Regions from separate parts of the Homo sapiens genome. Here region 1 is linked to region 2. The links are contacts of gene promoters, found by promoter capture Hi-C in blood cells and fetal thymus (Javierre and others, 2016). All regions are on one chromosome and are shown on one strand. Each heading gives the region's core, a stretch centred on a gene start or on the middle of the fragment in contact. The rest is flanking DNA. Distances are from core to core; before and after follow the strand shown. Region 1 holds the start of NKX3-1 (NK3 homeobox 1). Region 2 holds the start of CHMP7 (charged multivesicular body protein 7).

What was found. Contacts are between HindIII fragments. The CHiCAGO score rates a contact against its expected background, and 5 or more counts as called.
Region 1: the fragment with the promoter of NKX3-1 here is called in contact with the fragment with the promoter of CHMP7 in region 2 in 1 of 17 cell types (neutrophils); the score reaches 5.3 in neutrophils.

The regions. Positions count from the first base shown.
Region 1 is chr8:23,678,638-23,684,297 of GRCh38, forward strand. NKX3-1 (NK3 homeobox 1) reads right to left here and starts at 4,301. Exons shown (of 2, transcript NM_006167.4): 1 at 3,967-4,301; 2 at 60-3,002. The coding sequence starts at 4,252. The coding sequence ends at 2,584. All of the region lies in intron 3 of LOC107986930 (a long non-coding RNA gene), which reads left to right. RefSeq lists silencers at 3,883-3,932, 3,973-4,482. The HindIII fragment of the contact is 16,626 bases long and covers 1,473-5,660 here.
Region 2 is chr8:23,242,039-23,247,210 of GRCh38, forward strand. CHMP7 (charged multivesicular body protein 7) reads left to right here and starts at 1,599. Exons shown (of 11, transcript NM_152272.5): 1 at 1,599-1,806; 2 at 4,218-4,956. The coding sequence starts at 4,658. RefSeq lists enhancers at 1,291-1,792, 4,362-4,611 and a silencer at 4,632-5,141. The HindIII fragment of the contact is 15,350 bases long and covers 1-5,172 here.

The DNA.
Region 1 (5,660 bases), core at 3,051-5,550, 440 kb after region 2:
AAATATCTAAGTTACACAGCATGTAGTTTTTAGGAAACTGAAAATCACACACACATAAATCTAATAAAGACATGGGTACTTTATTTTCAAAACACTCATATGTTGCAAAAAACACATAGAAAAATAAAGTTTGGTGGGGGTGCTGACTAAACTTCAAGTCACAGACTTTTATGTGACAGATTGGAGCAGGGTTTGTTATGCATGTAGAGAACCCAAACTAATTTATTAAACAGGATAGAAACAGGCTGTCTGGGTGAAATGGTTCTGAGAACCATCCAATTCACCTGTCAGATGCTGATAGACTAGCTCTTCAGATGTTTTTCTACCAGTTCAGAGATGGGTTAATGACTAGTTCCAATGGGGAAAAAGCAAGATGGATTCACAAACCAAGTAATTTTAAACAAAGACACTTTTTTTTTTTTTTTGCAACACAATATACATCACAGTGAAATGTGTAATCCTTGCAAATTGCAAGTTGAAAGAATTAAATTCAGAGGAGGGGAGAGAAAGAGTACTCAGTAGGGACTGAGCACTAAATGCTTATTTTAAAAGAAATGTAAAGAGCAGAAAGCAATTCAGGCTACCCTGCCTTTTGTGCTGGCTAGTACTCCGGTCGGTGTCAGCAGCACGTGGCATTGAACATTGCAATGTGGAGCCCAAACCACAGAAAATGGGGTGAAATTGGCCAACTTTCTATTAACTTATGTTGGCAATTTTGCCACCAACAGTAAGCTGGCCCTTCTAATAAAAGAAAATTGAAAGGTTTCTCACTAAACGGAATTAAGTAGTGGAGTCAAGAGACTCCCAGGCCTCAGCGTACCTCATTAGTAATTGTTTTGTTGTTTCATTTTTTTCTAATGTCTCCCCTCTACCAGCTCACCTGAGATAACAGAATGAAAATGGAAGGACAGCCAGATTTCTCCTTTGCTCTCTGCTCATTCTCTCTGAAGTCTAGGTTACCCATTTTGGGGACCCATTATAGGCAATAAACACAGTTCCCAAAGCATTTGGACAGTTTCTTGTTGTGTTTTAGAATGGTTTTCCTTTTTCTTAGCCTTTTCCTGCAAAAGGCTCACTCAGTCCCTTGCTTGCTCAGTGGACTGGGCTCCCCAGGGCCTAGGCTGCCTTCTTTTCCATGTCCCACCCATGAGCCCTCCACTGGACAGCTCAGTAAGCCTGGCCCTTCATTCTGCGCTGTGTTCTTCCTCTGTGAAAATCCAATACCTCTTACCTCCTCTGCATGCAAAGATTCTCAAGGATTGTCAGACTTCAAACGTAACAGCAGAACCACCAGAAGGTCCTATAAATGCAGTAGTGACCTTCTCAAGCTGTCAGGTCTTTAAATAGGATTTGGGATTTAATGCTATGTATTTTTAAAGGAAAGAAATAAGAGTTGCTAGTTTTAAAAATGCATGTCTTTTAGCCAATTCAGAATCTGCCCCCAAACTTTTTTAAAAAGTCAAGACAGATAAAGCTTTGGGGAGACGGAAAAAAAAAAAAAAAAAAAAAAAAAAAGACCAGATCTCGGGCTAAATAAGCGAGGCATAAGTTAGGTGCAGCCAGACTAAAAATCTGGACTAAAATGAAGCCCTTTAGTGAGTAATTGCTGCAAAAAGGAACACAAAATTTTAAAAGGAGGGAAGGAAGAATTATGTTGCCTTTCAGGATACAGTATATATGATAGCCTGAAAACTCCAGGAAACTTCTGATTCTAAATTCTCCAGCCCAAGGGAAAAAAGTTGAGAAGAGGCCTTTCCACTTTCTACTAATAAAAAAATGCAACAGCCCCTAGCAGCAGTGTGGAGACCCTCCTTAGGCCCCTGTCTTGGACAAGCGGAGATTCTCCTGGCCCGGCCCCCCCTCTTGCAGTGGAGTTCTGTTTATACAGCTTGTCTTAAAATCACAGCGAGTGCATCTTGTTCTATTTGGGCCACCCTGTAAATACTTAAGTTGGCATACCATTTTAAAAGGAATAAAAAGGAATAAGAAAAGCTGATATTTTCATCTCCTCCCACCCATCTCCCCCTCCCATGCAAATATGTGCTGAGCATGAGGGCGTTCTCTTGGAGACTCTCTATTTGCCCCTCTCTTTTACAGGGACAGAGAGAGCCTTGGCCATATTCCAAGGCCAACAGGAGGCTTCTGGACTTAAGTTTAATTCAGTTGGTGACATCCTCATCCTGGTTGTCCTTTCTCCTGTTAGGTTTGCTCTTTCAGAGTTGATATTCAGTGACACAGGAGGATGGAGTTGCAGAACAGAATCCTTGGGTGTACAACTCATCCAAAATCATACAAAGTGCTGGAAAATACCACTTGATTTTCCCTCTCTCCCCTTCAAACAGGTAGCCAGAAGCAAAAAAAATGACCTACAGTATGCACTGGAGGAATGACTTAGGTATTAAAACTTTCACTGTCTCTGTTGTTTCATTGTCTCACCAGTGAAGAATCTGAGATTTCCACGCAAATCTCCAATAGCTTTGGTGTGCACACCTCTTGCTCCCTGACCTTGGCCCCTTGTGCTTTTCATAGAGACACCCTGGGGAAGGCAGTTTTTGATCATAATGGTTGTCACCTGAGCTGGCATTACCAAAAAGCTGGGCTCCAGCTGCCCACGCAGTACAGGTATGGGTAGTAAGGATAGCTGTTATACACGGAGACCAGGGAGGCCCGGGAGAAGGCCTCCTCTTTCAGGGCCGGCAAAGAGGAGTGCTTCTCCAAGTCTCCCAGCTCCGAGGAGAGCTGCTTTCGCTTAGTCTTATAGCGTCTGTTCTGGAACCATATCTTCACTTGGGTCTCCGTGAGCTTGAGGTTCTTGGCCAGGTGGGCCCGTTCAGGGGCCGACAGGTACTTCTGATGGCTGAACTTCCTCTCCAACTCGATCACCTGAGTGTGGGAGAAGGCAGCTCGGGAGCGCTTCTGCGGCTGCTTAGGGGTTTGGGGAAGCCTTGGAAGGGCGCCTGAAGTGTTTTCAGAGTCCAACAGATAAGACCCCAAGTGCCTTTCTGGAAAGGAGAGTGGGGAAGGAGGGATGGGAAGACAAAAGTTACATGTTAGCAGGGAAGAGAACAGAATTCAATCCACCCTTATCTCTTTAGTGAGTGAACAAACAGCCCACTGTCATCGTGGATACATTTCACTTTTTTCACATGACTAAGGAGCTCTCCGGAGTGAAGAGTGAGTAAATATGTTTATTACGCATTCATTTGCTAAGAATCATCAAGAACCCAAAGTTAGAGACGTTTCGTGGTTGAACTTTCTCCCTACTGTCTAGTAGAATTATATGGGGATTCTGGATCTGTGTGCTGAGGAGAGGCGGGAGAGGGAGGCAGGGAAAATGCCGTGGAACAAGATACCCGGGAAGGCCAGACCAAAAGACATCCGGTGTTAGGATCCAGGTGGGCAAGAGAGGGCTTGTGCCACTGGAGACGCAGAGGCAGGCTCATTCTGGGCTTTAATTCCCTCTTCGCTAAACGAGGCGTTCGGTCGCCTCATCAGAAGTGACAGGAAAGAAAATAAGTGGACTCTCTCTCCTGGACACCGGAGGGAACCCCGAATATACCGCTTTACTGCCCACGGGATTGGGAAGCACACGGAGGCTTTGCTGGTCAACCCCTGCTTTGTCACTGTTAATAAGTTATTATTAGTTCTCATAACTACCGGGGGGCTGGCGCCGATCGCGGGTGGCGCGGGGCGGGATCCGCTCCTGGGACGGTGGAGGGCGGTGGCGCTGCAGTCGCGCCGGCTTCTGAGCCCCAGGGAGCGGAGGGCACGGAGCCGGGCGAGTCCTGCGGTGTCAGAATCCTGCGCCGCCCTGACGCTGGGGCTCAGGGTTCATTCCGGGGGCGCGCGCGTGGCTGCGGAGGCGGGAAGGTCCCTCTGCCTGTCGCCGCGGAGCCCCGCGTCCCTGCACCCCGAGCTCTGGGGGTCCGCCTTGGGCTGCCCCCCTTCCCCGGCCTCGCCGCTTACCTGGCTCGGTCTCTGCCAGCGTCTCGGCCTCCTCCGGCGCGGCGCGGGGCCCGGTGCTCAGCTGGTCGTTCTGCGCCCCGGCGCGGCTGCGTCCTCCCTCTGGCTCTGGCTCTGGCTCCGGCTCCGGGTCGCGCTGTCTCTGGCTGCTCGTGCGGCCGCCTTGCCGCTGCGCGCCGTCCCGCAGGATGTCCTGGATGAGGAAGGACGTGAGCGGCTTGGACGGGGTCGGCGGCGCGGCCCCCTCCGCTTTCGCCTCCCCGGGCCGCGGCTCCGGAACCCTGAGCATCCCGGCGGCCCCGCCTTGGCCTGAATGCACCCGCCCGGCCCGCACCGCTTTCACTTTCCGCCTCCCGGCTCGCTTATAGCCCAGGGGAGCGGGCCGCGCCGCCCTCCCATTGGCCGCGGGACGGGCCGCGCCGCGGATTGGCCGCCCTGAGCCCCAGGTGACCCCGCCGATCTGCGAGCCCTGAGCACTGCCCCGCTCCGCTCCTCCCTAGGGGATTCCTTCCCCAGTTCCCTCTCCTTCCCCAATTCCCTCTCCTTCCCCAATTTCCTCTCCTTCTCCAGCTCTCCTCCCTCCGCCCTGAGCCGTTTTCCCAGGCCAGGAGCGCACCCCAAAGCGGGGCTCCTCTGCCCCAACCCACCCGCAACAGAGAGAAGCTCCTGGGGATGGGACGATCAAGACAAACAGTCCAGTTAGCTCTTCAGGACCGTCAGAGCCAATTACAGGGGATGAGCACGCAGTCACTGCAGCCGCGCGGTACCGTGAGAGTTCTGGGTGCTCTCTCTCTCTGGGAGAGATGGTGCAAACTCAGATCTGCAATATCTACGACCTCAAAGAGGCATGACAAGTAGGTGCAGCCAGACCCCAGGCTGAAAGAAGGAAAACACCTTTGCCAAAGCCTTTTCCCGTTGCAGAAGTGGTTTTCTTTGGTGGTTCCTTTATCCGCAATAACCTGTTAACTTTCCTTCCTCCCCAGACACATGACATACCATCCTTTTGAAAAGTTTCCAGACGGATGGAAGGCGTTTTAGGCCAGGACAAATGCAAAAACTGCATTTAAAAAAGTAGTTCAAAAGAACATCAGCATACTCTTTTTGCAGATTACCAACTGTTAACATGTAACCCATTGGCTAAACAATGGGTTAGCCAGATTGGTCCAACCGGTACTGTGACTGGACTGGACGGTACCGTGACAACAGACGAAAGTGGAACAGAGATGATGGAAGTATTTTCTTTCCTTGTCTTTTCTCTTCTTTTTTTTACGGACAGGGTCTCCCTCTGCCGCCCAGGCTGGAGTGCAGTGATGCCATCATAACTCACTGCAGCCTCGATTTCCTGGATTCAAGTGATCCTCCTGCCTTGGCCTCTCAAAGTGCCAGGACTACAGGCATGAGTCTCAGTGTCAGGTCGATGATGGAAGTATTGAATTAATGTTAAATTTACTGAAATTGCACATTGTACTGTCAGTGTACAAGAGAATATTTTTAGGAAATAAACACTGAAGTAAGTAGGAGCAAAGGCACAAGATTTATGAAACTTACATCAAATGGTTCTGAAACAAGGATGCAGATTGATAGATCCCACGCCATAAAGCCGATGGGTTAAATGGTAACAGTTGGTAATCTGGAAAAAGGGTAGGCTGATGTTTTTTAGAACCATTTTTTTAATGCAACTTTTTTGTCTGTCCTGG
Region 2 (5,172 bases), core at 349-2,848:
GACACTCAATAGTTAAAAGTCAACTTAATTAAAAGCTAATATTTAAAATGTATGTGTATGTGTATGTGTGCATAAGTGCATGTTCATATTTAAAAGGCCTTCATGGTTTTGTTTTTGTTTTTCTCTGCTAGGACCTTGTCTTTTTTTGAGCAAAAACTTTTTTTGTTCTCAATTGACTCAATTCTGTTTCCACTCGATTTTTTTTTTTTTTTTTACTAAAATAGTTATTGCAACAGAGGCTACTCTTGGGTTTTTAAGAAAGAGTATAGTTTAGACACTTAGAAATGCTTTGTTTACAAAAATGTTTTAAGTGCACTGTAAAAGCATCATGTGGTCTAGCCTCATAATAATTCTCCCTTTTTGGAGACCCAGGATTCAGTGTGGGCTCTGCCCAGAGCTCAGAGATCCAGTTAAAAAAGAATTGGTAGTCCCTATCTAAATAACAGTGGTCTCCTTATACAATCCAGTGATAAATTTCTATAATTTTATGTTCAATTGGCAATTAAATCTGTTTTAATTTCCCTCTAGCTCACAGAATTTCTCTTCAGACCTTATAATGTAAATTTTGCTATCTGACTTTCACCTGAGTTGTTTCCTTTAATATGCAAATTTAAGACTATTTAGCTGACTACTGCCTAGCACTGTGAAACAGGTTATCAAGAATCTGAAAGTCTAAGATAAAGAAAAAAGGTTTTTATGAATCTGTAAGATGTACTTCTTCTATCAGCATGCCTAATACATCTATGTATTTATATGTTATGTATACAATGTTGCACTCCTGAAAATATATCAAAGAGCTCTAATTAATTGTCTTAAAAAATAAAAGCATTTACATCAAATACTTTATTAGAAAAAGGAAAGACTAGTCAAATGCTTTTTCAAGTTATGTGACTTAAGTAAAATCTTTAATAAATAAGCTATCTTTAAAATTATTGGTAAAGTAATATTAGAAATGTCTTAGGAATTGCCAGCATACATTTTTATTTGCGTTTATTAATCAAGCAATTTCATACTTAACCCTGCCAAATACTATTAGGTGTCAAAATTTGGCACAGGCTATAAACCCAGCCCAAGACAGAATGATCTCTGCTCGTGTAACCATTAATAAATAAGACATTGATACTGGTTTAATGAAAATAGCTACATCTTGATTTAGTAAAATTACCATAACTTCTAATCTTGTGGCAGTCTAGGCAGTCTAGTCCACAGGCAGTAAGGAGTTTTGTTTTGGGAAAGGACTGTTATACTTTGTTTCAAAGTTAAACTATAAGTAAACTTGCATGGGAAGAGAATGTTTAATTTTGTGAAAAACGACCAAACTGTCTTCCAAAGTAGCTCTTAGAGACAACCTGTCCACAGAAGAACGCAGCAAGCCCCCTCCCCTAAATGCCCTGCAGCTTATTTCTTCTGAGATGCTGCCCCTACTTCACGTTACCAGAACTTAGGTACAGCTGTATCCACCCCCAGGCCAAACCACATCCTGGTACTCTAAGCCAGGTGGGGCAAGAAGTGACAAACAACTGCAGGATGTAGACTAACCTCAGAAAGCCCCTAGGCCCTCAAAGCCCTATATAAGTCCCTCACCTTAAACACCCTGGGCTGCCTCCTCTGACTGTTATGCAGCAGGCCGGCAGGTCAATAAACTTGCTTGCCTGACTTTGAGTATACTCGTCTTTTCTCTTGGCCAACCTTACGGTAGCTGTACCAGTTTGCATTTCCACCAGCAATGAATGAGAGTTCCTGTTGCTCTGCATCCTCACCAGCATTTGGTGTGGTCAGTATTTTGGATTTTCACCATTCTAATAGGTGTGTAGTAGTATGCTATTCTTGTCTAATTTGCTGTTCCCCAATGACATATGATGTTGGGCATATTATCATATACTTATTTGCCGTTGGTAGATCTTCTTTGGTGAGAGGTCTGCTCAGATCTTTTATCCATGTTTTAACTGGGTTATTCTTTTTCTTTTTTTTTTGAGTCTTAAGAGTTCCTCGTGTGTTTTGGATAACAGTCCTTTATCAGAGATGTCTTTTGCAAATAGTTTCTACCAGTCTGTGGCTTATCTTCACATTCTCTTCACAGTGTCTTTCAGAAAGCAAATAATAATAATAATAATAATTACGTCTAATTTATCAATTATTTCTTTCATGGATTATGCTTTTTGTGTTGTATCTAAAAAGTAATCATGATGCCCAAGGTCATCTAGATGTTTTGTCTTCTAGGAGTTTTATTGTTTTGTGTTTTTACATTTAAGTCCATGATCCATTTGAGCTGGCTTTTGTGAATGGTGTAAGATCTGTACCTGGATTTGTTTTTGTTTTTGCATGTAGGTGTACAGTTGTTCCAGTGCTCATTGTTGAAAAGACTCTTTGAACCATTGTATTGCCTTTCTTTTTTCGAAAGGTCAGTTGACTGTATTTACATGTGCCTATTTCTGGGATTCCTATTCTGTTCCATTTATCTATTTGTTTATTCTTTAACTAATACCACACTATCTTGATTACTGTTGATTTATAGTAATTCTTGAAGTTGGGTTGTATCCGTCCTCTGACTTATTTGTTCAATATTGTGTTGGCTCTTCTGGGTCTTTTGCCTTTCCACATAAACTTTAGAATTAGTTTGTTGATATCCACAAAATAACTAGCCATGATTTTCACTGGGATTTCACTGGATCTACAGATCAATTTGGGAAGAATTGATATCTTGATAATATTGAGTTTTCCTGTCCATGAATATAAAATGCCTCTGTATTTATTTAGTCCTTCATAGATTTCTTTCATCAGAATTTTGTAGTTTTCCTTATGTAGAATTTGTACATACCGTGTTAGATTTATACCTAAGTTTTATAGGGGGGTGCTAATGTAAATGGTATTGCATTTTTAATTTCATATTCCACTTGATCATTATAGGTATATGGGAATTGACTTTTATACATTAACTTTGTATCTGCAATCTTGTTCTCATTGCCTCTTAGTTCCAGGACATCGATTTGGCAATTCTTTCATAATTTTCTGCATGGATAATTATGTCTTCTATAAAGACAGACCATTTTATTTCTTCCTCTTCAGTCTGTACAACTTTTATTTCTTTTTCTTGGCTAACTGTGTTAGCTAGGATTTCCCGTACAGTGTTGACTAGGAATGGTGTGAGCAGACATTCTTGTGTTATTCCTGATTCCACTGGAAAACGATCTAGGTTTTCACCATTAATTCTTATGTTGGCTGTAAGGTTCCTGTTTATGTTCTTTATCAAGTGGAGGATGTGTCCCTCTATTCCTAGAGTGCCGAGACTTTTTATCATGAGCTGGTGTTGGATTTTGTCAAATGCTTTTTCTGCATCTAGCAATATGATCATATGATTTTTCTTTAGTCTGTTGGTGGATTATATTAATTGATTTTTGAACATTGAACTAGCCTTGCCTAGCTGTAATAAATTCCGCTTTAACCTGGTGTACAATTCTTTTGATACATTGTGGGTTTCAATTTGCTAACATTCTATTGATGATTTTTGCATCTATATTCACAAGATATATTGTTTTGTGTTTTTTCTTTCTTGTAATGTCTTTGTGTGGTTTTGGCGTTAGGGTAATCCTTGCCTCATAGGATCAGTTGGGAAGTATTCCTTTTGTTTCTATCTTATAAAAGAGATGGCACAGAACTGGTACAACTTTTTTCTTAAATATTTGGTAGAACTTATCAAATGAAACCATCTGGGCCTAATGCTTTCTGTGTGGATGTTGTTAATTATTGATTCAATTAATTAGATATAAACATATTCAAGTGGTCTGTTTCCTCTTGTGTGTTTTGGCAGAGTGTGCTTTCAAGAAATGTGTCCATTTCGTCTAGGTTATCAAATTTGTGGACATACAGTTATTCATAGTATTCCTTTATTATCATTTTCATGCCCATGGGATCTGCAGTAATGTCCCTTATTTCATTTCTGATATTGAGTATTTGTTTTTTCTCTTTGTTAGCCAGGCTAGAGGTTAATCAATTTCATTGACCTTTTCAAAAAATCAGCTTTAGGTTTTGTTGATAATCTTTTGAGTTTGTTTTCAATTTCATTGATTTCTGCTCTTTTTATTATTTTTTCTCTTCTGTTTAATTTGATCTTAATTTGTTCTTCTTTTATAGATTCCCAAGGTGGAATCTTAGGTTATTTTAGATCTTTCTTCTTTTCTGGTTTGTGCATTCATTGATATAAATTTCCCTCTATACAGAGATTCACGGATCCATCCGGGTGGTCCGGGCACCACTGGCGCCCCTCTGCGGCTATTCCCCAGTTCCATTTTCTGAAGCCACAGGTCAGAAGCCGCTGTACAACGCTTTGCCGAACTCCAGAATCTTGAAGGAGACGTAAGGTGCAGCCACCTGCCGCGCAGGCGCAAGCCTTTCTTTCGGCACAAAGACCGTGGGAGGAGGGGTCGGCGCAAGCGCTCGGTGTCTCTCTGAAAAGAACTTCATCATACTGCCTCCTGGCTGACGGAGCGCAGCGCAACGCATGCGCCTTGAAGACTTATGGAACTTATTTCACGCTCAGGGCGGCGGTGACGTGTGAACGAGAAGGAGGTGGTCAAGGAACGGAAGCCGGGAGGGAACGAGGGCGGAAGCGGACCAGGGCCAGGCTTGTGTTCGCAGCCTTGCCGGGGCTGGGGTTCCGATGTGGTCCCCGGAGCGGGAGGCCGAGGCCCCAGCCGGGGGAGACCCGGCGGGCCTTCTGCCCCCCGAGTGGGAGGAGGACGAGGAGCGCATGTCCTTCCTGTTCTCCGCTTTCAAGAGGAGTCGCGAGGTGAACAGCACCGACTGGGACAGCAAGATGGGCTTCTGGGCGCCGTTGGTGCTGAGCCACAGCCGCCGCCAGGGGGTGGTGCGCCTGCGTCTGCGGGACTTGCAGGAGGCCTTTCAGCGCAAGGGGAGCGTCCCGCTGGGGCTGGCCACGGTGCTGCAGGACCTGCTGCGGTGAGGGGCGGGCTGGGGCCAGGGCCGCGAGGGCGGGCGGGGGCAGCTCTCGGAGGGCCGGGCCCTGGTCCTGTTCTCTGCACAGCGCACTGCGCCCAGCCCAGTGTCTGGCCCAGAGAAGGCATCCAGTGTGTGTTCAGAAGGCGAAGAAGGAAAATAAGGAGGCTGGGCTAGGGAGGCTTGGAGGGAGAGGAAGAGGGGATCTGGGGGAAGATT